4 separate regions of the Homo sapiens genome follow, and all the other regions are linked to region 3. The links are contacts of gene promoters, found by promoter capture Hi-C in blood cells and fetal thymus (Javierre and others, 2016). All regions are on one chromosome and are shown on one strand. The core of a region is centred on a gene start or on the middle of the fragment in contact, and the rest is flanking DNA. Distances in the headings are between cores, read along the strand shown.

Region 1 (6,784 bases), core at 4,243-6,742, 1.5 Mb after region 3:
ACTCAAGTGGAAGAAAACAATCCAATTAAAACTGGGCAAAATACTTGAACAGACACTTCACCAAAGATGATATATAGATGGCAAATAAGAACATGTTTATTATCATCAACCATTACATAAATGCAAATTAAAATCATAATGAGGATAGCATGGTGGCTCATGTCTGTAATCCCAACACTCTAGGAGGCCAAGGCGGGAGGATCACTTGAGCCCAGGAGTTCAAGATCAGCCTGGGCAATAAAGTGAAAGCTCGTATTTACAAAACTTTTAAAAAAATTAGCCAGGAGTGGTGGCACTTGCTTGTGGTCTCAGCTACTCAGGGAGGTTCAGGTAGAAGAATCGCTGGAGCCTGGGAGGTTGAGGCTGCAGTGAGCCGTGATCATACCACTGCACTCCAGCTTGGTGACAGAGGAGACTCTATCTCAAAAAAACAAAAAAAAAAAAGTAAAATCACAATGAGATACCTCTTCATGCCTATTAGAATGGCCAAAATCAAAAGTGCTGACAATACCAATTGCTAATGAAAATGCCGCAGCAATTGGAATTCTCATCCATTGCTAGTGGGAAGGCAAAATGGTATAATCACCTTGAAAAACAGTTTGGCAGCTTTTTATATAAAGTTAAATATACACCTTCCATGTGATCCGGAAATCACACTTGTGGATATTTCAGAGAAATAAAAACTAGGTTCACATGGAAATCTGCACATGAATGTTTAAAGCAATTTCAATCATCACCAAAAATTGGAAATAACTCAAATGTCCTTCAGCTGATGAATGGATAAACAAATTATGATACAGCCATACAACAGAATACTACTAGCAATGAAAAGAATGGACTGTAAATACACATGATAACTTGGATGAATCTCAAACTATGCTGAGTGAAAGAAATCCACTCAAAAGCTTACATATTGTATAGACTTTATTTATGTGACATTCATAAAGAGGCAAAAGTGTATTGACAGGGAACACATCAGTGATAACCAGGAGTTAAAGGTAAGGGGAGGATGTGGCCATAAAGGGATAGCATATGGGAGATTTGCAGGGTGATCAAACTGGTCTATTTCCTGATTATAGTGGTGCCACAAATCTATACATATTCTAGAATTCACAGAACTGTATGCCCAAGAGTCTATTTTAATGTATGACAATTACAAATTTAAAATGAGACAGCTGGGGCCAGGCGCAGTGGCTCATGCCTGTAATTCCAGCACTTTGGGAGGCCGAGCCGGGTGGATCACAATGTCAGGAGTTCAAGAACAGTCTGGCCAAGATGGTGAAACCCCTTCTCTACTAAAAATACAAAAATTAGCCAGGCGCCATGGCGGGCGCTGTGGAAGTCGCCTATAATCCCAGCTACTCAGGAGGCTGAGGCAGGAGAATCTCTTGAACCCGGGAGGCAGAGGTTGCAGTGAGCCGAGATCGTGCCACTGCACTCCAGCCTGGGTGACAGAGTGAGACTCCATCTCAAAAAAAAAAAAAAAAAAAAAAGGCCGGGCACGGCGGCTCATCCCTGTAATCCCAGCACTTTGGGAGGCCGAGGAGGATGGATCACAAGGTCAGGAGATTGAGACTATCCTGGCTAACACAGTGAAACCCCGTCTCTACTAAAAATACAAAAAATTAGCCAGGCGTGGTGGCGGGCGCCTGTAGTCCCAGCTACTCGGGAGGCTGAGGCAGGAGAATGGCGTGAACCTGGGAGGTGGAGCTGGTAGTGAGCCAAGATCATGCCACTGCACTCCAGCCTAGGCGACAGAGTGAGACTCCATCTCAAAAAAAAAAAAAAAAAAAAGAGACAGGTGGAACTTTGAACACTGACTAGCTATCTGATGAAACTAAGTAATTGTTGTTAATTATTTTTACATGTGATAATGGTATTATGGTTATTTTTAAGTCCTTAGCTTTTAAAGATACACACTAAAATATTTAAGGACAAAGTTATAAAAAATATGGGATTTGCTTAAAAATAATACTGGAGGAAGGAACGGACTGGGGAAGAAATGAAAGAAAGGTGACCATGATTTAATAATTGTTGAAGAGGGTGATGGGTACGTCGGGCTTTATTATACTGTTCTGTCTACTTTTGTATATGTTTGATAGTTTCCATACTAAAAAGTTCAGCCAGGCACGGTGGCTTACGCCTGTAATCCCAGCACTTTGGGAGGCTGAGGCAGGCGGATCACGAAGTTAGGAGTTTGAGACCAGCCTGGCCAACATGGTGAAACCTCGTCTCTACTAAAAGTACAAAAATTAGCCGGGGATGGTGGCGCATGCCTGTAATCCCAGCTACTCAGGAGGCTGAGGCAGAAGAATCACTTGAACCTGGGAGGCAGAGGTTGCAGTGAGTCGAGATTGCGCCACTGCACTCCAGCCTGGGTGACAGAGCAAGACTCCGTCTCAAAAAAAAAAGAAAAGTTCAAAAAGGGTGTGAGGTTGTTAGTTTTCAACATCAAGCTGCCTGGTATGCAGTCTGAGTTTGCCATTTAGTAGGTGATCTTGGGCAAGTGACTTACTTGTCCTAAACTTCAGTTTCCCCCCACTCCATAAAATGAGACTACTAATGATAATATCTATCTCACAGTTGTTGTCAGGATTAAATGGATGTTGTCAGAATACGTGAAAAGCAATTTACCTAGTTCTTGCTATATTGCACATGCTCAATAAATGTTAATTTTTTTGTCATTATTACATCTCCTGGTCTGATTCCTCCATGCCATCTCCTCAGTATGAGCAAGTCTTCCTCCAAGCTTCTTTCTGGATATCTTATCTAAAAAGGGCCACTGAGTTTTACATCCTAATTCAGAATTATAAAACACAGGTTTGAAATTCTACTTCCCCCTCACACTACATTATATATATATATTTTTTTAAACAGGGTCTTGCTCTATTGCCCAGGCTGGAGTGCAGTGGCGCAATCATGGCTCACTGCAGCGTTGATCTCCCAGGCTCAAGCAATACCCCCACCTCAGCCTCCTTAGTATCTAGGACTACAGGCCAGCGCCATCGCACTTGGCTAATTTTTGTATTTTTGTAAAGACAGGATTTTGCCATGTTGCCCAGGCTGGTCTCAAACTCCTGGGCTCAAGTGATCCATCCAGCCTCCCAAAGTGATGGGATTACAGGCGTGAACCCAGCCTGTTCTATTCTTTATTGTATACCCAGGAGGAAATCCTAAACTTAAAAGATTGGGTTAAATAAAAATTCAGAAATGCCTATCTTTTCCTCCAAACTAGGAGTAATGTAAGATTACCATGAGTCGTGGTGGAGTGGAGTTCAATTCACCACAGAATCTGAGACAGGAAGACCTGCCAGGCCATCAGCCCCTTCCCACCACTCCTGCAGCATTCATTTTCAGGAGCAAAAGAGCCTTCCCACAATTACTGAGTCCAACACTTAGTTTCCAGGATAAGCCCACACCCAACCATTCTGTCCTGTGGTTCCCAGTGATACACTCACACTTGTTAGAATGTGCCACTTTGGGGTTCAGAAAATGCAATCACTGAGAGAAGCCCGAGTTGTAGTTATGCTCTCCTTTCGTTCCATACTTCCCCCTCTCTTGCCACATCTATCCACTAGAGGGAGGAAGGCCTAGAACCTCTTTAGCCAGAGTGGAGCAGTGGCAAGGATCAGTAGTGTGGCTTCTTAACCAAGCCAGCAGTGGGGATGTCAGAAGCACCGGAACATAATCGCCTCATTCTCTCGGAACAGAAAAGAGGAAGGGTCCCTTCCTTCCCCTTTTCAACCCTCTCTGCATGGATTGGCATGTCACCATGATCTGGTGCACTCACTTCCCTCAAGTCAGTGTGCAGGCTGCTTAAAAAATTCAGAGGAACATGTACTGGGGTCTTAGGAACATTTTCAGCCAGTGGAGAGGAAAAGGAAAACTAAGTATCTCTTGGATCATTCACAGAGTTCACCAAATACAACTGAAAACTGGGGGCTCTAATGTCCCTGCTGCCCTGATGGTATTAGTTTAAGATGTTGACACTGACATCTGCAGAGATCTCATCCATCACGGTATATCAAAGAGCAAATGTCATTCTAGTTGAGAAACTCATGTATGAGAAAGAATGGTCATCTTGGGAAATCTGTAGCTCCAGCGGCTCCTGATGTTTTTTCCTGCCTCCTCCTGTCCCATGCTTGTGCCCCAGGCAGAGCTCATTCCTAAAACCATAGCTGACCCTCTGTGCTGTCTTTTAAGTTATAATAGTAGCTGCCAACTGTTGAATATTTTGCTTTATGACAGGCACTACACTAAGCACGTTAACATATCTCACTGAAGCCTCACACCAAAGCTATGAACTAGATACAATCTATCTGTAGATAATAATATATATCCATCTGTAGATATCCATCTTATATCCATCTGTAGATGAAGAAACTCAGGTTGAGTAAGCTATCTAAGGTCACAGAGCCAATAAGTGCTAGAGGCAAGATTCTTATTCTGTACACTCTGCCTCCAAAGCCCACTTCTTTGACCCTAAGGGCACAAGAACCCAAATCAGGATGTGAAGCTTGGTCTTTGAAACCAAAGGAAGCTCCTGAATCATCCTGATAGGCTGACGGCTTGGCGCTGTAAACAAAATCAGTCTTTTGTCAAAAGGAAATGAAGTTGCCATGCCACTGTTCACTCCTGTAAGAGACTCCTCTGGGCTGTTCCATTCTCTTGCTGCAATTCAGCCGGTTGAAAAACTAAGGTGACTGCACAATGATTAACTTCAGGCCCTTCTGCTCTACTTTGAGCCTGTCTCTGGTTCATCGTTACACTCTCCGCTCAGCACCCGCAGACTCAAGAGATTTCCAATCCCCCAATTTAGCGTGGTTCTACCTTAGGCAGAACTCCCATCCAGTTCGGATATAAGCGGGTCGAAGTGGCAGGGACCACCTCGCTGGGAGGAGAGGCTGGAGCTGCGGTCTTAAAAGATCTTGGGGCCGGGCGCGATGGCTCACGCCTGTAATCCCAACACGTTGGGAGGCCGAAGCGGGTAGATTATTTGAGCCCTGGAGCTCGAGACCACCCTGACCAACACGGTGAAACCCAGTCTGTACTAAAAATACAAAAAAAAAATTAGCCGGGCGTGGTGGCGCACGCCAGTAGTCCCAGATACTCGGGAGGCGGAGCCAGGAGAACCACTTGAAACTGGGAGGCGGAGGTTGCAGTAACCGAGATCGCGCCACTGCACTCCAGCCTGGGCGACAGAGCGAGGCTCCGACTCAAAAAAAAAAAAAAAAGTATTGAATAAGCACCGGAGACCCTGAGCCACCGAGTAGCGGAGGGAAAGGGTGGCGCGCAGAGGGGCCCAGCCCCGCCTCTGCCGGACCCCGCCCCCAAAAGGCCCCGCCGCCGCCACCTCCTGCTAGGCCCCGCCCCCGACAGACACCCCCCCCCCCCCCCGCCAGGCCCCGCCTCCTGCCCCCCCAGCCGCGAGGTCCTGCCTCCTGCCCGGCCCCGCCCCCGGCCTGCCCCGCCCTCCGACCCGCCCCGCGGCGCATTGTGGGATCTGTCGGCTTGTCAGGTGGTGGAGGAAAAGGCGCTCCGTCATGGGGATCCAGACGGTAAGACCCTCATTCAGTATCCTCCACTGGGGGACCCCTCCCCATCTGGTTCTGGCCACTCAGCTCCGGACCAGGGGCTGTCGCTGCCGACCCCGCCCCGCAGGGCTCTGGGCCCACCGTGGATGCTGGGGTCCCGATCCCGCACATCCGGGCTCGGGACTCCGCCAGGTTACCCCTCTGCCCTTGGCATGCCTCCGCGCTGGAGCTCGGGATCGCCACCCCTGGGACGGTCACCACCCAAGCCCCGGGCTCTTACCCAGCCTGGCGGTCACGCTGCCTCCTCTACCCACAGAGCCCCGTCCTGCTGGCCTCCCTGGGGGTGGGGCTGGTCACTCTGCTCGGCCTGGCTGTGGGCTCCTACTTGGTTCGGAGGTCCCGCCGGCCTCAGGTCACTCTCCTGGACCCCAATGAAAAGTACCTGCTACGACTGCTAGACAAGACGGTAAGTTGGGGAAGAAAGGGCCAGGGTGAAGGAGGGGACCAGAGTGCTCCTGGCATGGAGGGTACAGCACCCACGGTGGTTGGGATGTCCAAGGGACGTGGCAGCGCCAGGCGCGCTTGGTGAAACACTTGTGTCCTCCACCCTCCAGACTGTGAGCCACAACACCAAGAGGTTCCGCTTTGCCCTGCCCACCGCCCACCACACTCTGGGGCTGCCTGTGGGTAAGGAAAGTGTGGAATGGGCTCCTTTCCCTGGTATCCTCAGAAGGTGACTCCCCTCCTGGGATCTCATGAAACACGCTGCTTCAACCGGTTTGCTCCACACACCATTCCCCTTCCCCCACTTGGCTCTGCATCCTCCAAGCTGTGAGGTGCCACTGGGCCCCTCTAGAGTGTGGCTTCCATGACCCCCATCCAGCTTTAACACTCAACAGTCTTGCCTCTTCCCTGCAGGATTTGCTAATTACTCCCTCTGAGCAAGCACTACTAACTTTTTCCCATTGCCCAGACCCTTTTGGCTCATCTGTCAAGGTCCTGGCAGTAACTGGCAGGAAACGCTGGAAATAAGTGTTTCCTCAACTGGGCGCTTATAAGAGATCCAACTGAGGGCTCAATGGGGCAAATCTTCCCTGCCTTGTAGCTCCTTGGGACCACAGCAGGAAGCAAGACATCTTGTTCTCTCAAATCTCTTTGAGTATTTTGAGGGATGCAGCACATCACAGACAACCCTTATGTAGCTCTCTGCACGGTCCCCAGGCAAACATATCTACCTCTCCACCCGAATT
Region 2 (7,060 bases), core at 2,069-4,568, 1.3 Mb before region 3:
GCGCAACATGCAGTTTACTCGTGTAACAAACCTGCACATGTACCCCTTGAACCTAAAATAAAAGTTGGAGAAAAAAAAAAAAGGAAAGTATTACTGAATATGAAGCAGAGAGGATGAGTGGGAGAAACCATTTACTGAAGAAACAATCAATCAGACATGGTAACTGAATTTTTTTTAAAAGGGTATAGACCAGGTGCGGCGGCTCACGCCTGTAATCCCAGCACTTTGGGAGGCTGAGGCGGGTAGATCACTTGAGGTCAGGAGTTCAAGACCAGCCTGGCCAACATGGTAAAACCCTGTCTCTACAAAAAAAATACAAAAATTAGCCAGGCTTGGTGGTATGCGCCTGTAGTCCCAGCTACGCAGGAGGCTGAGGCACAAGAGTTACTTGAGCCCAGGAAGCAGAGGATGCACTGAGCCAAGATCATGCCAATGCACTCCAGCCTGGACAACAGAGTGAGACTCCATCTCAATAAACAAACAAACAAATAAATAGGTATAAAGGGACATGTGTAAAGGAAATAATAATGCTCAGAATCTGAAGTCTACATGGAGGCAAGAAATGATGAGACCAGTGACAGAAATAGGGAAGCTGAGAAAAGGAGCTATTTTTATGGCAATGTAGTAAGAGGAAGGATGTGGCAGGACATCCAAGTGGGGGCACCTTTTGGGCAGCTGAATATCACTGATCAGAGATAAAGAACAAATAAAGTGTTAATGGTAGCTATGATAGCGGTTATCACCAGTGCCGTGAGTATTCCTTCATTAAGGGCTGACACAGAGAACAATTATACTTATTGGGTATATTTATCAATCTTGGCTGGCAATAATGCCTGGATGCAATCACTTTATGACGCAGTTACACATGCTTTCTGATCTCAGTATTTACCATAATAAATCTGCTCCTATAATTGAGGCATACCGCCCTCAAAAACTTATTTGTAAACAGGATTGGACCCAGTTAGAAAAAATGAACGTACTTGTTTAGGAAGATTGCATTGCAGAACAGGCAGAGATGCTGCACAATGATTCCTATGGAATCATTATTAATTGGTCCCCTAAGGGGATGTTTAGCTTGAATTGCACCTCTCAGTCTGCGTGCCACGGCCACACTATGTTCAGCTGGTCTGAACAAAATGGTCAGATGGTAGATATAATAAGAAGTACAGCAAGAGTTCCTATTATCTGGAACCATGGCAGTATAGTGACACCTCAACCTCAAATGATATGGCCCGCTCTAGGAGCTTAACATAAGGATTTAAAATTAAAAGAAGAAATATTTAAAGCATCCGAGGCACACTTGACCTTAATGCCAGGAACTGGAGTGCTTAAAGGAGCCGAAAATGGATAAAAACACTTGGAAGCTCTGTGATTTCAATGATGATTGTGCTTTTAATCTGTGTTGTTTGTCTTTGTATAGTCTGCAGATGTGTATCCTGACTCCTGCGAGAAGTAGCTCACCGTGACAAAGCTGCCTTTGCATTTATCAATTTGCAAATCAGAGAAGAGGGACATGTTGAGAGCAGGCCCCCCAAAATCTGGCCATAAACTGGCCCCAAAACTGGCCATAAACAAAATCTCTGCAGCACTGTAACATGTTCATAATGGCCCTAACGTCCACGCTGGAAGGTTGTAAGTTTACAGGAACGAGGGCAAGGAACACCTGGCCCGCCCAGGGTGGAAAACCGCTTAAAGGCATTCTTAAGCCACAAACAATAGCATGAGTGATCTGTGCCTTAAGGACATGCTCCTGCTGCAGTTAACTAGCCCAACCTATTCCTTTAATTCGGCCCATCCCTTCGTTTCCCATAAGGGATACTTTTAGTTAATTTAATATCTATAGAAACAATGCTAATGACTGGTTTGCTGTTAATAAATACGTGGGTAAATCTCTGTTCGGGGCTCTCAGCTCTAAAAGCTCTAAAGGAAATCAGACCCCTGATTTCCCACTTCACACCTCTATATTTCTGTGTGTGTGTCTTTAATTCCTCTAGCGCCACTGGGTTAGGGTCTCCCCAACAGAGCTGGTCTTGACAGAATATCACTGATCAGAGATAAAGAACAAATAAAGTGAAGATAGATCTTTGACACCAAGGACAATTCACTAAAGAGTTTATCGAATGATTGACTCAGAGACCAAGAATCAGGCCTTAGGAAATACTTAGCGGGAAATGGGATGGAGAGAAACCTGAAAGAAAAAGATAATCATCAGAGAAGTACGGGGATGACAAAGAAAGAACAGCGTCATAGAAGGCATAAGGGAAACAAATGTCAAGGAGTGGTCAACTATGTCAAAACGAATAAGAACAGAGAAAACTGGATCCTTAAAGATGAGTAGCTTGAACTAACCTCCTGTACCTGGGTAACGAACATTCTGGGCAAAATATATTGTGAACCATGCTGATGTTCTTTCGCCACAAAACATAAGTGATAGCCTCTCTATCAAGAGACCTAGATTTCCTAGTGTCTGGTCCTGGGCTGTTTTCCCATGGCCCCGCTGGTTCTCTTCCTCTATTCCTAGAAAAGTATAGAAAATGGAGCTCTCTTTGCTTGCCATTGAGCTCATGTCCTGCCAACTTCTACCCAAGTGACAGGTAGGTCAGTAAAGTTACAGGCTGAGAAATTAAAATTATTTGCCAAACACTAGTTTTATGATTATCTATTAACAACAGCCACAACAAATCAAGAAGGAGTCCCAGTGTATTTCAATTAGCTTCTAGCTCAAGTGATACATGAGTAGTATGGCTAGAATAGGCATTGTAGAAGTATGAATGGAGAACTGTCTCTTGTTTTCTGTCCATCTTTATTGTTATTGCTGGATATTAAATGCTGTAATTTTTGGCATAGGTTTTTTTCCAAAGACTGGTCTCTTGGGTCAAGTTTTCCTGAACTTGCCTGGTATTGGGCAAGTTCACACAGAAAATATGAGTCATTTCACAAAGTCCTGGGCTTGTCTATCTACTTGAAGGAATAGGAAATGGACTTCACTTGGAGCATGATGGATGAGGCTTGGGCTTTTACTAATGAAATAAGTTTCAATCTTAACTCAGTTAAACCTTTAAAGACAGGAGAAAACTATCTGGGGATGGATTCAGGCCAGTGAGATCACGTTGCACAAATCTCCCCTTAAGGGATCTTTACTGACCTAGAATTGTTTCAAAATAAGATTCCAAACTGTCGAGGGAGTTTGAAGCCTTGAAACTTGGTGTAGGTTTGCTTAAAACAAAATAACGAATATACTACATTTCCCAGGAGGCTTCGCGGTGAGCCTCCGCACTCGGCTGGTTCTCTTTACCGCGAGGAAAGCTGGGAAATGTAGTGCCACAGGCAACCCTGCACGTGACGCTTGCGGAGGAAGGGGAGAGAGAGGCGCGCGGGAGGGCGTCTAGGGAATCGAGGTGCCGGCTGCTCCTTCCTCACAATTTGGTTTGTGCTGCAAGGGGAGGGTCCCCATCATCTGGCCCCAGTGGTGTAAGGAGCTGACTGGGATTCAGTCACTGACTTGGAGCCGCTCGGGGGAAGTCCCGGTGGGTGAGGTTCCGCGGCGCCTGGTCCAGTTTCTCGGCAGTCAGGCCAGGAGGGGGTGGGGAAGGTGCGAACAGCCGGGGGCTCGGAGCTCGCGCCCTGCGCCCCACCCAGGTTGCGGCCGCCCGGGGAGGAAGCGCGTATAGGTTGAGTGCAAAGTTTCCTTTTTTGCTTTCTCGTCAGAGCAGCCCAGACAGGCGGTGGGTGGGAATGCCTCACTTCAGTTTGAAGAGGGTCCGGATCCAAAGGGGTTAAAACGAGCGACCCCCGATCCCCGACCACACTTCCCGCCTCCCTAAAACGCACACCCCGCTAGCCATGGGCAGCCGCGACCACCTGTTCAAAGTGCTGGTGGTGGGGGACGCCGCAGTGGGCAAGACGTCGCTGGTGCAGCGATATTCCCAGGACAGCTTCAGCAAACACTACAAGTCCACGGTGGGAGGTGAGACGTCTCGGGGGTGGGGAGGGGGAGGGGGAGGAGGAGGCCCCGACCGCGGACTCGAGCTGGGGACCCAAGTGGGGTGGGGATTTGCTGTCGGTTGTTGGGTCCTTCTTCGGGTCAGGAAGTACTGTCTGGGAACCTAGATGGTGTAATTGCCGGGTGTTTGGTTTACACGCCTCTCTTGAGTTTCCCGTTAGATTTTCCCAAACTGAGCCCACTGCCAGGAGAAAGGTAAGAGCAAAGGCGTGAAGATGAGAAATAGGGAAGGGAGGATGAGGATGAGCAATTGCTGTTTATTGCAGGCGTACTGTGAACTTAAGTCTCCAGCCTTTCAGCTGTCCGGCAAATCTCTCCAATCAGCAGAAGCAGCTGAGATCCTCTGTGGGGCCTCCTGGTTAGGTGCCGGCTGGGGCTGTAGTCCTGCCCCTCTGTTGAGGGAGGAACCGCAAGGTGTTTAACCTGGCTTCAGTGGGAGAACGCAGGAAGCGGAACTGGTCTGAAGGACTGTAGCTTTGTTGTGGGGCTGTGGGTGGGATGGAAGACACAAAATCCCCGAACGAGCCCCTTGGCTACGCAGTCAGATGCCCATGAGGGCTGATGAGCTGTGTTTTTGTCCGTTGATTGCTTAAATAAAGGTAACCAAGGAATTCTTCCAAGAATGTGAAATATACCACTTCTCTGACCTATCTTCCCACCACTTTTTTCCTCAAACTGGAGAAGGTAGGGAGGAAGGGGACACCGAGTTCATTCATTTCTTTCCCGGGTGTGGCCTTTGGACTCAACTATTTTTTCAGAGGCAGAAATGCCTTATTGTTAATTAGAAGGTATTTAGCTAGGAAGAGCTGGTGATGGGGGAGAGTAACTTAAAATTTTATTTCTCTCTGTTAAAAGAACTTGTTTCAAGGGGGGAAAACTCGTACCAATGGAAAAATTGAAAATGTGTGCTCCTGTTCATATGGAAGTTTAAAAAGAAATTAACAAACATTTACATTGCAATTAAAACATTCTCCTTAAGAACCCCCAGTAGGGCCCAGTACCGTGGTTCATACTTGCAATCCCAGCACTTTAGGAGGCTGAGGCGGGAGGATTGCTTGAGCCCAGGAGTTCGAGACCAGCCATGGGAAACATGGCAAGACCCCCACCTCTACAAAAATTAAAGAAGAAAGTAGCCGTGGTCCCAGCTACTCGGGAAACTGAGACGAGAGGATTGCTTGAACTGGGGAGGTCGAGGCTTCAGTGAGCCCCGTTCGCACCACTCACTGCACTGTAGCCTGGGCAACAGAGTGAGACCCTGTCTCAAAAACAAAGGAACAAAAAATTTAAGTCTGGCAAAATTAAAGGTTCAAAGTTTCAGACACTCTATCCTGACCGCTCTGCCCTCCCACTCCTAAATAATATAAGGGTCCCTATTTCACGGATTTGGGTTAAAAGTGGCCTGCTATTAATAGTTAATTTTTAACAATTGCTGTAGTTTTCCTTTAGCAAAGAATATAATTGGCTAATTTTTTTTTCAGTGTTTAGTCTAAATTTCCCTTAGCTTTGATTCCTGTCACAGATGTGAAAGATAATATTTCCAAACCTCAGAAATTACTCTGTTTCTCTCCTTAGCCAAAAGGCTTTCCCCATGGAATACTTACTCAGCCTTAAGGAGTCTCAGCACCTGCAGACTTGGTGGTAGATTCCAGCAGGACTCTTCAGCAACATCCACACAGTGTCTTCTTCTTGGGACTCCTCTGGGACCTTTTCCATTTATTCCATTCTTGCCCAAGATAATACCTGCAACCTTATGGTGGATGTAGAGTTCCCCAGGGTGTGTTCTTTTCATAATACAATTTGATTAGAAACCAACAGTGAAATTGAATGTGGAAGATACGAAAGCAACCACACTTGTCTCATTTCCCCCTTCTCCCCCATCACCCCTTCCCTGAGAAAACCCCCTAAATCTCCCAGAAACTATTTAACCTGAGAATGAGAATTGTTTTCATAGTTACTCCCACCCCCAGTCTTGGAGACAAACAGTAGCAAATAAATGAGCTTGACAGTAGAGTAAAAGCTGGAAACCCCTTTGGAGAGTGAGTATGAATCATCCATCTCACACTAAATACACGCATGTGGACTCATCTCAGTGAATTGAGGGCTTAAAGTTAAACATATGGGATTGGAGTTGTGTGTCCATAGGGTTTCACTGCCTATTTGATTTGAGTTTATCCCTATTAATTTTTTACAGTGAAATTTTATTAAAGTATAATGTACATATATTTTCAGTGGATTTTGCTCTGAAGGTTCTCCAGTGGTCTGACTACGAGATAGTGCGGCTTCAGCTGTGGGATATTGCAGGTAAAGTGGGAGGGCTAGATAGGAACAAGGGAAGAAATTTTGATTTAACTAGAAAGCTCTGAGGAAAAAATGGGGCAGCAAAGCCAGAAATTGTTTTTCTGAAGCTGGAATGATTGAGCTGCTCTGAGGACACATGAGCTGAATAGGTGCAGAGCTTTTGTAGATGTTTTGCCCTGAATAGATCTGGAGCAGTCTCTATGTGGATGGAGGGGCTGGCAAGGTGGTGGATTGTCCAGACTATAGGTGGACACTCCCACAGCAGGGGAGGGTGCTTTTTCTAGGTTTAAGGCTGACCTTGGTGAAAAACAAGATCCCCAGAAAATAGATACAGTAAAAATAGTGAATCCTTACTATGTGCCAAGCATTCTTCTAAGTATTTTAAATTCACTGACTCATTAATCCTCACATCAACCCTATCATAAAAGCTACTGCTTTTGGAGAATTGCTTGAACCTGGGAGGTGGAGGTTGCAGTGAGCCTAGATGGCACCACTGCACTCCAGCCTGGGCAACAGGAGTGCAGGAAACTGTTTCAAAAAAAAAAAAAAAAAGCGACTGCTTTTATCTTCACTTTACAAATGAGAAATCTGAAGCACTGAGAGCTTGATTTGCCCGAAGTCAAATAGTATGCAGCAGAGCAGGGATTTGGACTGGAGCAATCTGGGTGCGGAATCTGCCTTGGAAATAATTGGGCTTCATTATCCCTTTATGGGATAGAAAACCAAGAGTCAGAGGGGGAAAGTGAGTGGCCCCATCTG
Region 3 (6,681 bases), core at 3,423-5,922:
AGATCACCCAATGAGTAAGTTGTTGGAGTCAAGATTTCAAACTCAGACAAGCACTAACATCCCCGTTTAGCAGCATTTTTTCCCATTAGACCTCAAGTACACAGAATTAATCATAACTCTTTTATTCAAGACATATGCTGATTATTCATCCACACATGGCCCATTTTACTTATTTTTACCTTTTTATTTTCATAATTTTTTTGAGACAGGGTATTGTTCTGTCACCCAGGCTGGAGTACAGTGGCACAAACATAGCTCACTGCCACCTCGACCTCCTGGGCTCAAGTAATCCTCCCACCTCAGTCTCCTGATTATCTGGGACTACAGGCATGCGCCACCATTCCTGGCTAATTTTTTTATTTTTTGTAGAGACAGGATTTTGCTATGTTGCCCAGGCTAGTCTCAAACTCTTGGCCTCAAGTGATTCTCTCAACGAAAGTGTTGGGATTACAGGCATGAGCCACCACACCTGGCCTGGATTATTTTTAACGCAATAATCTTCCACAAACTAAGACTCTGATCATAACCTATATTTAACGATAATATCCCCCATCCCATTTTGCTGCCTTCCTGCAATAATAATCATCCTGAACCCTATTGTTTTCATTTCCCTTGCTTTCCTTTTTATACATTTTACTGCATCAAAATGGATTCCTAAAAAGTATTTTTAGTTTAGTTGCTCTTAATTATTAAAAAAAAAAAAAAGCAGGGATGTTGCATGTAATTTGGGAAATTTTGTTCCACTAACATAGATTAATTCCTACTGTCATATCAAAATTCATTTTTTTTTTTTTTTTTTTGAGATGGAGTCTCGCTCTGTCGCACAGGCTGGAGTGCAGTGGCGAGATCTCCCCTCACTGCAGGCTCCACCCCCCGGGGTTCATGCCATTCTTCTGCCTCAGCCTCCCGCGTAGCTGGGACTACAGGCGTCCACCACCTCGCCTGGCTAATTTTTTGTATTTTTAGTAGAGACGGGGTTTCACCATGTTAGCCAGGATGGTCTCGATCTCCTGACCTCGTGATCCGCCCGCCTCGGCCTCCCAAAGTGCTGGGATTACAGGCATAAGCCACCGCGCCCAGCCTAAAATGGTAGTTCTTTCTTATCTCTTAGTTTTTCGTTTATATTTTTCTCTTTCTTTGTTCTAGATTTTCTCCTTCTAGAATTCTAATTCATTCCTCAGTTGTATCCGTTCTGTTATTTATTCCATCTGTGATTCCATAACATTACAGATGGAATAAATTACAGAATAGATATAGATGTTTTGAGACAAGGTCTCACTCTGTCGCCCAGGCTGGACTGCAGTGCCGTGATCATGGCTTACTGCAACCTCAACCTCCCCAGCTCAAGCAAGCCTCCCACCTTAGCCTCTGGAGTAGCTGGGACTACAGGCGTGTACCACCTAATCCAGCTAGTTTTTTTAATGTTCCCCAGGCTAGTCTCAAATTCTGAGCTAAAGCAATCCTTTTCAGCCTCCCAAAGTGCTGGGATTACAGGCATGAGCCACCATGCCAGGCCAATGTTCTTTAATCCAACCACTGTATTTTTCTTTTTCATATACATATATTTTTTGAGACGGAGTTTCGCTCTTGTTGCCCAGGTTGGAGTGCAATGGAGCGATCCTGGTCCACCGCAACCTCCACCTCCTGGGTTCAAACGATTCTCCTGCCTCAGCCTCCCGAGTAGCTAGGATTACAGGCATGCACCATCACGCCCAGCTAACTTTAACTTTATATTTTTAGTAGAGACGCGGTTTCTTTTTGTTGGTCAGGCTGGTCTCGAACTCCCAACCAGGTGATCCGCCCACCTTGGCCCAGCCTGCCAAAAGCATTTTAAAAAGTAAAAAAATCCTATAGTGTCAGGCCCTGCTCAACAGCTTGCTATTGCTGTAAAGATAAACACGTGGTCTATCCCCTCAGCACATTTTCACTCTTATCTTGCACTGTTTAGTCGTATCTTGAGCCTCAGCCACCCTGATCTTTTAGTTTCTCAAACAGGGCCTTTGCACAAATCGTCCCTTCATTTGGAGCACTGTGAGTTTTGTACAAAACTGATTCATCCTAAACCTTCAAGTCTCAGGTTAAATGTCACCTCTTCAACAGTCATCACGAGATTCCAGGCCAGAAGCAGTGGCTCACACCTGTAATCCCAGCACTTTGGGAGGCCAAGGCAGGCAGATTGAGGCCAGGAGTTCAAGACCAGCCTGGCCAACATAATGAAAACCTCTCTCTACTGAAAATACAAAAATTAGCTGGGCGTGGTGGCACAACGCCTGTAATCCAGCTACTTGCGTGGCTGCGGCAGAAGAATAGCTTGAACCCAGAAGGCAGAGGTTGCAGTGAGCCAAGATCATACCACTTCACTCCAGTGGCAGGGGTAGGGGATGCTAAAGCCATCTGAGTGAAAGGTTGGGGTGGAAAGAAAACACGTGGAGTAGGCTGACCATTCCACCATCCCCAACCTTATCACTAAAAGAGGGTCATTCACACACCATATACTACTTGATTATGAAGCAACAAGAAACTAGCACAACACCTATTAAGTATTCCTGACCAAAAGATAAATAATCCAAATCTAGACCTACCTACTAACTGCAAGTTACTAGGGAAAATGGAGAGCAAGCAGTTAATAAGTCAAATCCAGAACGTAGGTGTTCTACAGGACCTGGGACGGCAGGGAAGATTAAAGTGGGAAGATTAAACTGGGAAGATTAAATCTTTAATTAAAGATTAACGATTGTTATAGAATCTTAAAAAACCAACTGCAGCCGGTGGCCTGTGCCTGTAGTCCCAGCTATTCCGGAGGGCTGAGGCAGGAGGATCCCTAGAGTCCAGGAGTTTCAGGCTGTAGTGTGCAATGATCACACCTGTGAATAGCCACTGCACTGCAGCCTGAGCACACAGTGAGACCTCATCTCTTTTTTTGAGACAGGCTCTCGCGCTGTCGCCTAAGCTAGAGTGCAGTAGCTCCATCCCGGCTTGCTGCAGCCTTTACCTCCTGGGATCAAGCAATCCTCCCACCTCAGTCTCTTGGGTAGCTGGGACTGGAAGCTCGCTCTATGACACTGATTTTTTTATTTTTTGCAGAGATGGGGCTCAGTTTGTTGCCTAGGCTGGTGTCGAACTCCGAGACTCAAGCAAACCTGCCCCCTTGGCCTCCCAAAGTGCTGGGATTAAAGGTGTGAGCCACTGGGCCTGGCCGAAATCCCATCTATTAAAAAAAAAATGTATGAGGAGAGAGAAGACTAAATCTAAACTGAGATACAGTAATACTTAACACCAAGAGGTTCCAAGTATCTTTGACAGATACTAGTTCCACGTGCCAACAGCACAGAGCTGCAGCATTTTCTCCGGGTGTTGCTTTTAAACTGTGGTTTTCGGCCGGGCACGGTGGCTCACGCCTGTAATCCCAACACTTTCGGAGGCCGAGGTGGGCGGATCACCTGAGGTCTGGAGTTCGAGAACAGCCTGGCCAACCTGGTGAAACCTCATCTCTAATAAAACACAAAATTAGCCAGGCGTGGTGGCGCACACCTGTAATCCCAGCGACCCGGGAGGCTGAGGCAGAAGAATCACTTGAACCCGTGAGGCAGAAGTTGCAGTGAGCCAAGATCGCGCCACTGCACGCCAGCCTGGGCAAAAAGAGCGAAACTCCACTCAAAAAAAACAAAAACAAAACAAAAACACAACCAAAAAAACCTGTGGTTTTCAAGCTTTAAGGTATACAAAAATCACTGGGAGGTGTGCTCATTAAAATATATTTCTCTGAGCCCCATCTCGATACTGTCTGTAGGTTTCAGTGTGGCCCCAAAACGAACATTTTTTCTTTTTTTTTTTTTGAGACGGAATCTCCCTCTGTAGCCCAAGCTGGAGTGCAGTGGCGCGATCTCGACTCACTGCAACCCCCGCCCACGGATTCAAGTGATTCTCCTGCCTCAGCCTCCCGAGTAGCTAGGATTACAGGCATGCGCCACCACACACATCTAATATTTTTGTATTTTTACTAGAGACGGGGTTTCACCAGGTTGGCCAGGTTGGTCTCGAACTCCTGTCCTCAGGTAGATCCACCCACCTCGGCCTCCTGAAGTGCTGGGATTACAGGCGTGAGCCACCGCGCCAAGCCAAAACAAGCATTTTCAAACAAGCACTCAAGTGCCTCTAAGGTAGACTGTCCGCAGACCTAAAAACTAACTTAAAAACTTAAGACACGTCAATGTCATTCTACCCGGTTCCCTCTCTCCCACCTCCTTTCTCCAAATTGCCTCAACAGTCCTCAAATGTTGTGTCCAGTTAAACTCAATCCAACTACGTCGACTTTAGGTTTGTCACCTGTTGGCCAAAGTTACTTCACGTCACCCCACCTCCACTTTTATCTTCCGCGAGCCCTCATCCCACAACTCTTCCCCTCCCCCCGAGCCCTTCTTCCGCCTGGCGCGGCCTTCCCCACGCCGCCCGACCCACCTCTCAAGCTCCTCCCGCCCGCTACCCGCACAACTGGCGGTACGGCCGCCTGCTCCTCACTCTCCAGCTCCCGCTCCCGGCACCCCGCCGACGAAGGCCAAGAGCCACACCTTACGGCAGCTCCATGAGTCGCTCCCCCGCCGAGCCCGGGTGGGGGGAGGGGTGGCAGTCACAGATCCTAGGGCCTCGGCAGCATTTTGAAATGGCGAGTAATGAAGCCGCAACTTCCGGCCTCCCACACGGCCTCACACGAGGGCTTCCGGTGAGGCCTCCGGAAACCATAGATGGAGCAATGGGAGGACTAGAGAGCTAGAAAGGCTGAGCTCACTACCATAGAGTAGATCCTAGTCCGGGGAGAGAGTCGTGGGGCCCGAACGGTTGAAAGTCGTCAGATTTGAAGAGATAATAAGTGAGGGACTTGCAGGGTCTTGTGATATTTACAGACGTGTATTAGGAGATCAGAAAACAGAGAAGAGGAAGAGCTAAGGTCATAATCACAGGCTGCCTTCAGCTCTTCGGAAAAACTACGCTTCCTCTGCCATTCCCCAGTCCTCACCCTTACTCCCCAAGGGTGGTAGGGAAGGGAAACGGAGCGATGGCGGCACTAGGGTGGCAAGGAAGCTTGAAGCCATGTCAAATAAATAGTTGAAAGCACCAGCCGCTGTGGCTCACGCCTGTAATCCCAGCACTTTGGGAGGCCTAAGGCAGGCGGATCACCTGAGGTCAGGAGTTCGAGACCAGTCTGACCAATATGGTGAAACCCTGTTTCTACTAAAAATACAAAATTAGTCGGGTGTGGTGGCGCATGCCTGTAATCCCAGCTACTCAGGAGAATCGTTTGAACTTGGGAGGCGGAGGTTGCAGTGAGCCGAGATAGCGCCATTCCAGCCTGGGCAACAAGAGCGAAACTCCTCAAAAAAAAAAAAAAAAAAGAAAAAGAAATAGTTGAAGGCTCAAGGGAGTTTTTAACCTGCATATAAACGAGGGAGGCCGGGCGCAGTGGCTCTCCCCTGTAATCCCAGCGCACTTTGGGAGGCCGAGGCGGGCGGATCACCTGAGGTCAGCAGTTCGAGACCATCCTGCCCAACATGGCGAAACCCCCGTTTCTACTAAAAATACAAAAAATTAGCGGGGCATGGTGGCGGTCACCTGTAATCCCAGCTACTTAGGAGGCCGAGGCAGGAGAATCGTTTGAACCCGGGTGGCGGAGGTTGCAGTGAGCCGAGATAGCGCCATTGCACTCCAGCCTGGGCGACAAGAGCGAAACTGCATCTCAAAAAAAAAAAAAAAAAAAAAGAGGGAAAGGGTTGAGCATAGAAATTGGAAGCTGTCTTCAAATAACTGAATAGTATAATATTGGAAATAACGGAGCCTTATTCTCTTCTCCAAAGTGCAGAACTAAAACCAATAGAAATTACAAGGCAGTATTTTTAAGCTCAGAAAATCCTCTAACATTTAGAGTTGTTCTGAAATAAATGAAATTAGGTATTTGGGGGAAGTAATGTCATTTGAAGACAGCCTGCCTGAGAGGTTTGTTGAAAGCTCTTCTATATTAGGAAACATTAAAACTGGCTGTGTAACCCAAGAAAGCTCCATCTCAGTGTTCTTTGCACCTGTCTTTTAGCATTTACCACGTATTTTTTTTTTAGTTATTTGTGTATATACCATTCTTATCTCTCCCAATAAGCAACAACAAAACCTGGCTCCCAATGCTAGATACAGACCCATGCAAAAGAACACAGGGCAGTAACCTTCCTTAAATTTGTACATTCCGCTTTGTTCTACTTCTAGCATAACCTCCTGCATAGCTGGGAGATCCAGGGTTCCATTAAGGAGCTGAAGAATTAACTTCTTTTTCATAGAAATCTGCAACCACCTCACTCACAAAAAAAAAAAAAAAAAGGTCAAGGGTGCTTTTTTAGGTGAACCACTGTCAACTATTTCCCCTGTCCTTTTGTGCAATTAGTATTTTTTAAAACTTTCAACAGGAATTTTTTTTTTGTAACTTTTAAATAGCATCTGGTTAGTTTGGATCCTTTCCTAATGTCTCCTGGAGCCTTGGAATATGATCTGTTCATGCAATTCAGTTTGTGTGAGATCAACAGGTATTTGTTGAGGCCAGGTGCAGTGGCTCACACCTGTAATCCCAACCCTTTGGGAGGCCAAGGTGGGAGGATCGTTTAAGCCCAGGAGTTCAAGACCAGCCTGGGCAAGAAAGCGAGA
Region 4 (7,118 bases), core at 455-2,954, 1.2 Mb before region 3:
ACTTGGGAGGCTGAGGCAGGAGAATCGCTTGAACCCGGGTGGTGGAAGTTTCAGTGTGCAGAGATCGTGCCACTGCAATCCAGCCTGGGGAGCATAGTGAGTGAGACTCCGTCTCGAAAAAATAAAAATTAAAAATAAAAATAAGAGGGACAGAGGGTGGAATGACATGGAAGAGACAAAAGATATTAATTTGTTTAATGCTTCACTGGTGGACTGTGCTATTCTCTTCTTTTTGGGAAGCCAGATTTTACAAAGGGAGACTTTCAGGAGGCAGATGTGGTGTGTTTTTTGTTGTTGTTGTTTGGAAAGTGTATCTTCAATTGGTTGTTAACTGACTGCTCATTGGAGACTTCTGCCAGATGCGCCCAGATCATTAGTCCGTTTGAATCATCACGTCTTCCAGGCCCCACCCTACTCTCTGATAGGCCCCACCTTCACCGTGGGGTCCTGTTAGTCAAGATGCTCTGAGAGCGCACAGCCACCAAACAAAAATGATCGCTTTGACTGTGACAGGGATTGACGTCTATTTTCGATAGCAGACTCAGCCTTAGCCATTCACATAGGAATCCTGAGCTCTGCCTTTGAGAGTATTAGGCATCCAACAAATGCTCACGGATTTAAGTGAAATGATGTGCGTTACTTTCAGTTATATGACTTCGAAGAGTCTTTGTTTTGTTTTTCAAAGTGCAAGGGTAAATCAATAGAATTCATAGGGTCTTGAGCCAGCTCCACCCATCTCTACCCAGGGACGGAATCATCTTTTAAAACTTGGATTTAACACTTACGTAGCACTTACTGTGAGCCAGAGACTATCCTAAAGACTTTTGATAGATATATCAACTCATTTAATACTAATAAGCCTATGCAGTTAGGTACCCTTGTTTCCCATTTTACAGATGAGAAAACTGAGGCACAGAGAAGGAAAGTTATACCACCATTAAGTAGTGGACCTGGGATTCCACCTGAAATACCTTGTGGCCCCTGAGCTCATGCTCTTAGTTATTGTACACCTGACTCTTTTCTTAAAATAGTAATGCACCAGACTGGGACTTTAATGACCCTGAAGTGGATCTCAAGGTCCAGAATGGAGAATGGTAATTGGGGGTGAAGATATTCCTTGATTATGATCCTGCCTCTCTACTCCAGCAGCCTCATTTGGTCCCTGAGGGTTAATGCCGAAGCCAGGGTAAGGGGCTTGTAGGTTTAAGGTCAAATTTTTTGAACCTAAGGAATTTCCCTCCAATTCTGTAGCAGCCCCGCAGTGACGAATCTGCTGCCTCTCCCACGGGTTTTGCTATTAGAGGATTTTCAAGGTGATCAAGGCAGACGAGATGAAACACCATTAAACTAACACTGAGCAACGCTGAACCCTACATAAATCTTTTTTTCTAGTCTTTCTAAGATACGACCCCAGACGAATCTGCAACTCTGGAGTGGAAACCAGGGGGCGGGCTAAGCAGCGACCATTTTTGTTTTGCGGCCGTGCGCTCTCAGAGCATCTTGACTAACAGGACCCCCACGGTGAAGGTGGAGCCTATCAGAGAGCAGGGCGGGGCCTGGAAGACGTGATGATTCAAACGGACTAATGATCTGGGCGCATCTGGCAGAAGTCTCCAATGAGCAGGCGTGTTGGGGAGGAGCGCACAAACCCTAGTGGGTTTGGTTGCACGGCGGCTTTGGCGCATTTTCGGCTGGTTTGATTCATCCATTTTGAAGAGACGGGGGAGCGGGGGGCTCGTCTGTTCCAGGAGCCCTGAACCAAAGAGCAGCGGAGTTTGAGAAGCCAGCAGCTCGGGGTTCGGCAGCAGCGGTCCCATCGGCTGAAGTTCGGGGGGGGTGGGGCGCCGAGCGCGCGGGGTGGGGGGGGTCCTGGTCTTTGGCTTCTCGACTCGGTCCTGTTTCGACAGCGAACATGTCGCGGCCTGTCAGGTCAGTGCGGAGTCTGAGGCCTGGAGCGGGTTGGAGGGGGATGGGGGCGAGTGGTGAAAAGAGTGGGGGACAGAAGGCTAGAGTCCGCCATCCCCGGTGCCGCGCGCGGCCTCCTCCCTTTCGGGGCCCGCGCGCACCCTTGAGCGTGGGGGGCCCTGCTGGCGCGCGGGGGTGGTGGCTGCGCGCCCGTGCGCGCGCCCCTCCCCGCCCCGCGCCGCTGCAGGGCTCCGGTCTGCTCAGCTGCCTCCCCCACCCACCGCACTAGAGCGGGCGGGGTGTCCCTGAGCCGCCAGCGGCCGGAGGGGGAGGGGTGTGAAGTCAGCGCCCCCAAGAGGCCCCACCTCCTCGGGGCCGTCCCCTTGGAGCCAGCGCGGGGAGGCGGGCGGACTCGAGCTCCACTCCCCACCTTCAGCGAGGAGGGGCGGAGGCACCCGTATTGCCCCTTCCCCCAGCGACTGGCGCGGGGGTGGGGGCCCTGAGCCCTCTCTGTAGCGGACGGGGGTGTTCCTGGCAAAGGGGGAGGGGCAGCACTGCCAACCGGCCCCGCCTCTGTCCTTCGGGGTCGCTGCAGGCCCCGCCTCCCGGATCGGGCCGAGCGTGGGCGGGACCCGTTTTTTTCCCCCCGGGCAAAAGTGAGAGTTCGGGACTGGATCCTGGAAAATAATGGGCTGCTGCCTCTCTCCCCACCTCAGAGTTTTGAGAGAGTTAACCCCAAAGTTCGCTCTTTCTCTCCGACTAGAAATGTCCTTCCTCGGGGAAATGTCCGTACTCAGGGAGGTGCGGGTTAACAGCACGGCCCAAATCCCGTGTGGTTCTCGTTCCACTCTCACCCGCGTACGCGTCTCGGGATATTTTTGTAACCCTCTTGTCCCCGAGTGACTTTAGTAATAAAAGGGCTAGGTTCGGGTAACCATCAGACTTCATTCTCGGAATTTCAACAAGTTTGCTATTCCCCCAGCTGTCGGTGGAATCGTCCTATGCCATTCTCCAGGCTATTGTATGGAATGTGCCATTTATGGAGGGGTGTGGTTTAGTCCAATCTGTTGAGGCCTTAAAAAGGAGAGCTGTTGCAAATAAATATTTTTAATGTAAGGAATTGGCTTCTTTGCATAGTGTGTTTTCTAAATAAATAGATAAAGGCTTAGTTTTTAAATGTTTTAACAGTCGTTGCTTCCCCTTCATTCCAAGTTGTGTGGGAAACGGAAGTACCTTTAATTAGAGTTCTAAAGAGAGGTTTGGGACCCTGGCAAGGGTTTTGTTCTACACCGTTCTGTCTCCAGACTAGATCATCCTCCAACTGGTGGTGGTATGAGACTGCGTACTCCTACACACGGGGTGGGAATGAGGAGAAAGCTGCTGTTAGCTCTGTTTCAATCAGCATCTGTGGTAACTCACGATCTCTACTCTGAAAGTTATGCTGGCCTTTTGGCAAGGAGTCTGGATAGCTCTTTCAGAGTATAGTTTGCGTAATTTTTTTGGCATAAAACTTGACCAATGTATCCATCAACTCACGTAGAATATTTTCTTTAGGATCAGGTAAAATAATAAAATAAAGATTTATTTTACCTGGATTGGATCTTTTGTCTTCTGGAAGTAATTACTGTGTGGTCAAATTAGGTCAAATTAGGAAAAATAATTCCTCTACCTTTTAAATTTTAGTTCACTAAGTTTTGATGACTTTATTTTATTGTGGTGACGTTCTTATCTCATCTGCCTGAATTTGTTTTCCCAGATTTAGGTATTGGAACATGAACAGAACATTTTTACTGGAAAACTTGGATTTTTTATGTTACCATGTGGGGATATATATATTAAGCACATTCTATCAGTTTTTTGGAGGCATTGGGACTTCTGCACAACTTTTTTATTACTCAGTATGTTGTTTAAACTAATTTTGACCTTGTTTATTTCCCCTAATTGAAGAGTGAAGTTAATATGTTGTGGGCTGTTTTTTTTTTTCTTTGCCATTTTCAAATTATTAATTTCAGAGCAAGTTGGTTACGGAGTATATTTTAGTCATAAATTCTTTGTAATTATTTTTTAAAAGAAGTCTTTATTCATGACCAATAATAAAGCAGAAATAATTAAACTTGAGTTTGGTGGTTTGTTAAATTTTGCAATAAAAAAGTCCTGACTTAGGGAAATGATGTTGTTTCAAAGTATAATTGAAGAATCTATATTCCCTTAGTGCATTTAACATCAACGAAAAAAGTGATAGACATTGACCTGATTTCAGAATCATCAGCCTTGTTTTAAAAACAAAAAAGCACAAGTTGGAAAATATTGTCACTGTGTCGTCTTTTGGGGTATTTCTGCCCTTAGGCCTGTGTATAATTTTGCAGTTTTTCTGGTTCTCATTGTACCATAAATATCCATTTTTATTTTAATATGAACCTAAACATTTTAAGAGCATTTGGAAATGTACCTATGGCACCTTAGCATCAATTTCCAAATGAAGGGTGGTATGGTGGACCTATTGGCTACTGCATGGTTTTGCAAAGACCTGTGTCTAGCACGTTATGTTTAACTTTGTTCATACAAGATTGCTGTCTTTACCCTTTGCAGTGGCCGACTGTTAAATGAGAGCTCAAATATTTTAGGCCTTGGATTCAAATTAATAGCTTAAAATTAGCCTTGGAGCTAGGAAGAGGTTTAGGCAAACTCACTTTATTAAACCTAGTTTAATGGGGACCTGGATAAGTGAGGTGCCTTGCATCACGAACTAGCAGGTGCAAATGTTGGGCTGAGAACCTAGATTTCCCAATTCCCAATTCCCAATTCTGGTCCCCACCCGCATGATCGCTGTACCTTCTGCCCGATCAATATTAATGTTATTAGTGCTGATTAAAGAACATAGTATGTAACATTTTTAACTTTTTTAAGTGCTTTCATGAGTCAACTTTGTGAGGAAGGAAGGAAAATGCCATTACTTGTAAGAGGTGAGAAAGAAAGCTCAGATTTACTGACTTGCCCAAACTAGAAACCAGATTTCTTGAAATTCAGCTGTTACACTCTCCAGAGATCCTCCTCCCTTATTGAAAGTGATCCAGGTTGCTCAAACCAATCTTTTTGCTTCTCCTTGTAACCTAAGTGTGCTTGATACCTTTTGTTTAACACTTGAGATTGTAAGGAACCTTACCATTGAAAATTTAGATGTGAAAACATAAGCTCTTACAAGTTGTTATAGAATTTATTTTATTGTTTGTCATGTTTATAAGTAGTGTTGAGAATTAACGGCTTTCCCAGGATTCCAGTTTGCTTTCTTTTCAAAGAGAATTGTTTGGGCCATGCCTGGATTCTAAAAATATTCTCTCCCCCAAAACAATTGGTTTCAAGAAGTCCTCAGCTAAAGAGAAAAACTAGAAACTTGAAAATTCAAGGTAGTTCAAAATGTGTTACCAAATGTGCACATGAAGACACAAGTTTAATATGGTTGTAGATGAGACTGGCTCATTCTCTTATTCTCTAGTGTGTGTGTGTGTGTGTGTGTGTGTGTGTGTGTGAGAGAGAGAGAGAGAGAAGTGAGTTTATTAACCTTGGATCTATACTTTTTAAAATTACCTGTCAGTTTCCTCTAAAAAGACATAATTCCTTCAAAGACATGCCATCAAAGATACATAATTTACAATGCCTGAATAATGGGGGAGTTATTTATTTATTTGAGATGGGATTTCCCTCTTGTTGCCCAGGCGGGAGTGCAATGGTGCAATCTCGGCTCATTGCAACCTCCACCTCCCGGGTTCAAGTGATTCTCCTGCCTCAGCCTCAGAGTAGCTGGAATTACAGGTGCCCACTACCACACCCAGCTAACTTTTGTATTTTTAGTAGGGACAGGGTTTCACCATGTTGGCCAGGCTGGTCTCGAACTCTTGACCTCAGGCGATCCACCCACTTCAGCCTCCCAAAGTGCTGGGATTACAGGCGTGAACTACCGCGCCCGGCCGGAAAGTTACTTTTATAAGAAAAGTATTCACTTTTGCTCAACATACATGTAATTAATTACCTGAAAATTACAGTGTTTAAAATTTTCATTTTAAATGTTTAAAATGTTTTCATTTTCAACAAACATTGAGAAAAAATGCAGTCAGGAACTGTGCTAGAGGTTTTCACTTTGTTTTATCCTTATTACAACCCTGTAACAAGTATTTTTCTTTATCACCATGTAACATGACAAAACAAGCTTAAAGAATATGTTACAGTTACAGAGCTATGATAGCAGAGCTAAGGTTTGAGCTCAGATCTGAATACAAAACTAGCATTTTTTTTCCATGGTACTAATCTTTCTTGCCTAGTATTCAGTGTGAAGATGGTCAGGTTTTTTTTAATATCTCCTCAATGGTGAATACATTCCATACACATTGATTTTTAGCTGTTTAAAACATTTTAGGAAAAACAGCCAAAATGTTTAACTTAGCGTTTTTGCTCAACTCAATATTTAAAATAATTTTCAGAGATACTTTTTTTTTTTGGAGACAGGATCTCACTGTCACCCAGGCGGGAGTGCACTGGTGCGATCACAGGCTCACTGCATCCTCAACCTTTCAGGCTCAGGTGATCCTCCCACCTCAGCCTTTCAGGTAGCTGGGACTATAGGTGTGGCCCACCACGCCTGGCTAATTTTTTGTAGACAGGGTTTCACCATGTTGCTCAGGCTGAGAGAGATAGTTAAAAGTACTAAATTAAAAAAATAAGCTAGAAAGAACTTAAGTCCCGTTCCTTCAGTTTACCAGTGATGACTTTGAACCCAAGGAGTTAGTGTAGAGATAATATCAAGGCTGGATTTAGACTGCATAAATCTTAGTCATTCTCCTTTTTACTATTTGTATATACAGTATTTGATTTTACAGAGAGTGTATTAGAAGTCCACATTCCTAGTTTGAAACCATTGGGGCCATATGTGGTTTAAAATTTTTGAAAAATGTGGAATTCCCAAAAGGTAACAGGATGCATGTACTGTATAGTAATGTACCATCACTAGTTTAGGGTAGTACTCCTGTAAACAATCACATTAATATCTCTCGTGAGGGCCAGGCGCGGTGGCTCATGCCTGTAATCCCAGCACTTTGGGAGGCTGAGGCGGGCAGATCACCTAAGGTCGGGAGTTCGAGACCAGCCTGACCAACATGGAGAAACCCCGTCTCTACTGAAAATACAAAATTAGCCAGGCGTGGTGGCGCATGCCTATAATC

The links. The method cuts DNA at HindIII sites, captures the fragments that hold promoters and counts their contacts. A CHiCAGO score of 5 or more calls a contact.
Region 1: a contact is called between the fragment with the promoter of CYB5R1 here and the fragment with the promoter of MDM4 in region 3, in 6 of 17 cell types (naive B cells, naive CD8 T cells, non-activated CD4 T cells and 3 more). The highest score is 9.3, in naive B cells.
Region 2: a contact is called between the fragment with the promoter of RAB29 here and the fragment with the promoter of MDM4 in region 3, in 2 of 17 cell types (total CD4 T cells and activated CD4 T cells). The highest score is 5.3, in total CD4 T cells.
Region 4: a contact is called between the fragment with the promoter of NUCKS1 here and the fragment with the promoter of MDM4 in region 3, in 3 of 17 cell types (activated CD4 T cells, fetal thymus and naive CD8 T cells). The highest score is 6.5, in activated CD4 T cells.

The regions. Positions count from the first base shown.
Region 1 is chr1:202,965,965-202,972,748 of GRCh38, reverse strand. It overlaps CYB5R1 (cytochrome b5 reductase 1), which reads left to right and starts at 5,492. Exons shown (of 9, transcript NM_016243.3): 1 at 5,492-5,558; 2 at 5,851-6,000; 3 at 6,149-6,221; 4 at 6,756-6,784. The coding sequence starts at 5,544. RefSeq lists silencers at 4,394-4,688, 5,305-5,464, 5,535-5,584. The HindIII fragment of the contact is 3,400 bases long and covers 4,519-6,784 here.
Region 2 is chr1:205,771,740-205,778,799 of GRCh38, reverse strand. It overlaps RAB29 (RAB29, member RAS oncogene family), which reads left to right and starts at 3,318. Exons shown (of 6, transcript NM_003929.3): 1 at 3,318-3,527; 2 at 3,714-3,967; 3 at 6,233-6,304. The coding sequence starts at 3,844. RefSeq lists an enhancer at 4,404-4,453. The HindIII fragment of the contact is 8,570 bases long and covers 1-7,060 here.
Region 3 is chr1:204,514,397-204,521,077 of GRCh38, reverse strand. It overlaps MDM4 (MDM4 regulator of p53), which reads right to left and starts at 4,672. Exons shown (of 11, transcript NM_002393.5): 1 at 4,569-4,672. RefSeq lists enhancers at 4,400-4,679, 4,710-4,789, 4,800-4,929, 4,368-5,278, 4,219-5,418 and 1 more. The HindIII fragment of the contact is 1,369 bases long and covers 3,713-5,081 here.
Region 4 is chr1:205,744,768-205,751,885 of GRCh38, reverse strand. NUCKS1 (nuclear casein kinase and cyclin dependent kinase substrate 1) reads left to right here and starts at 1,704. Exons shown (of 7, transcript NM_022731.5): 1 at 1,704-1,929. The coding sequence starts at 1,913. RefSeq lists an enhancer at 1,261-1,510 and a silencer at 1,931-2,530. The HindIII fragment of the contact is 8,985 bases long and covers 1-6,111 here.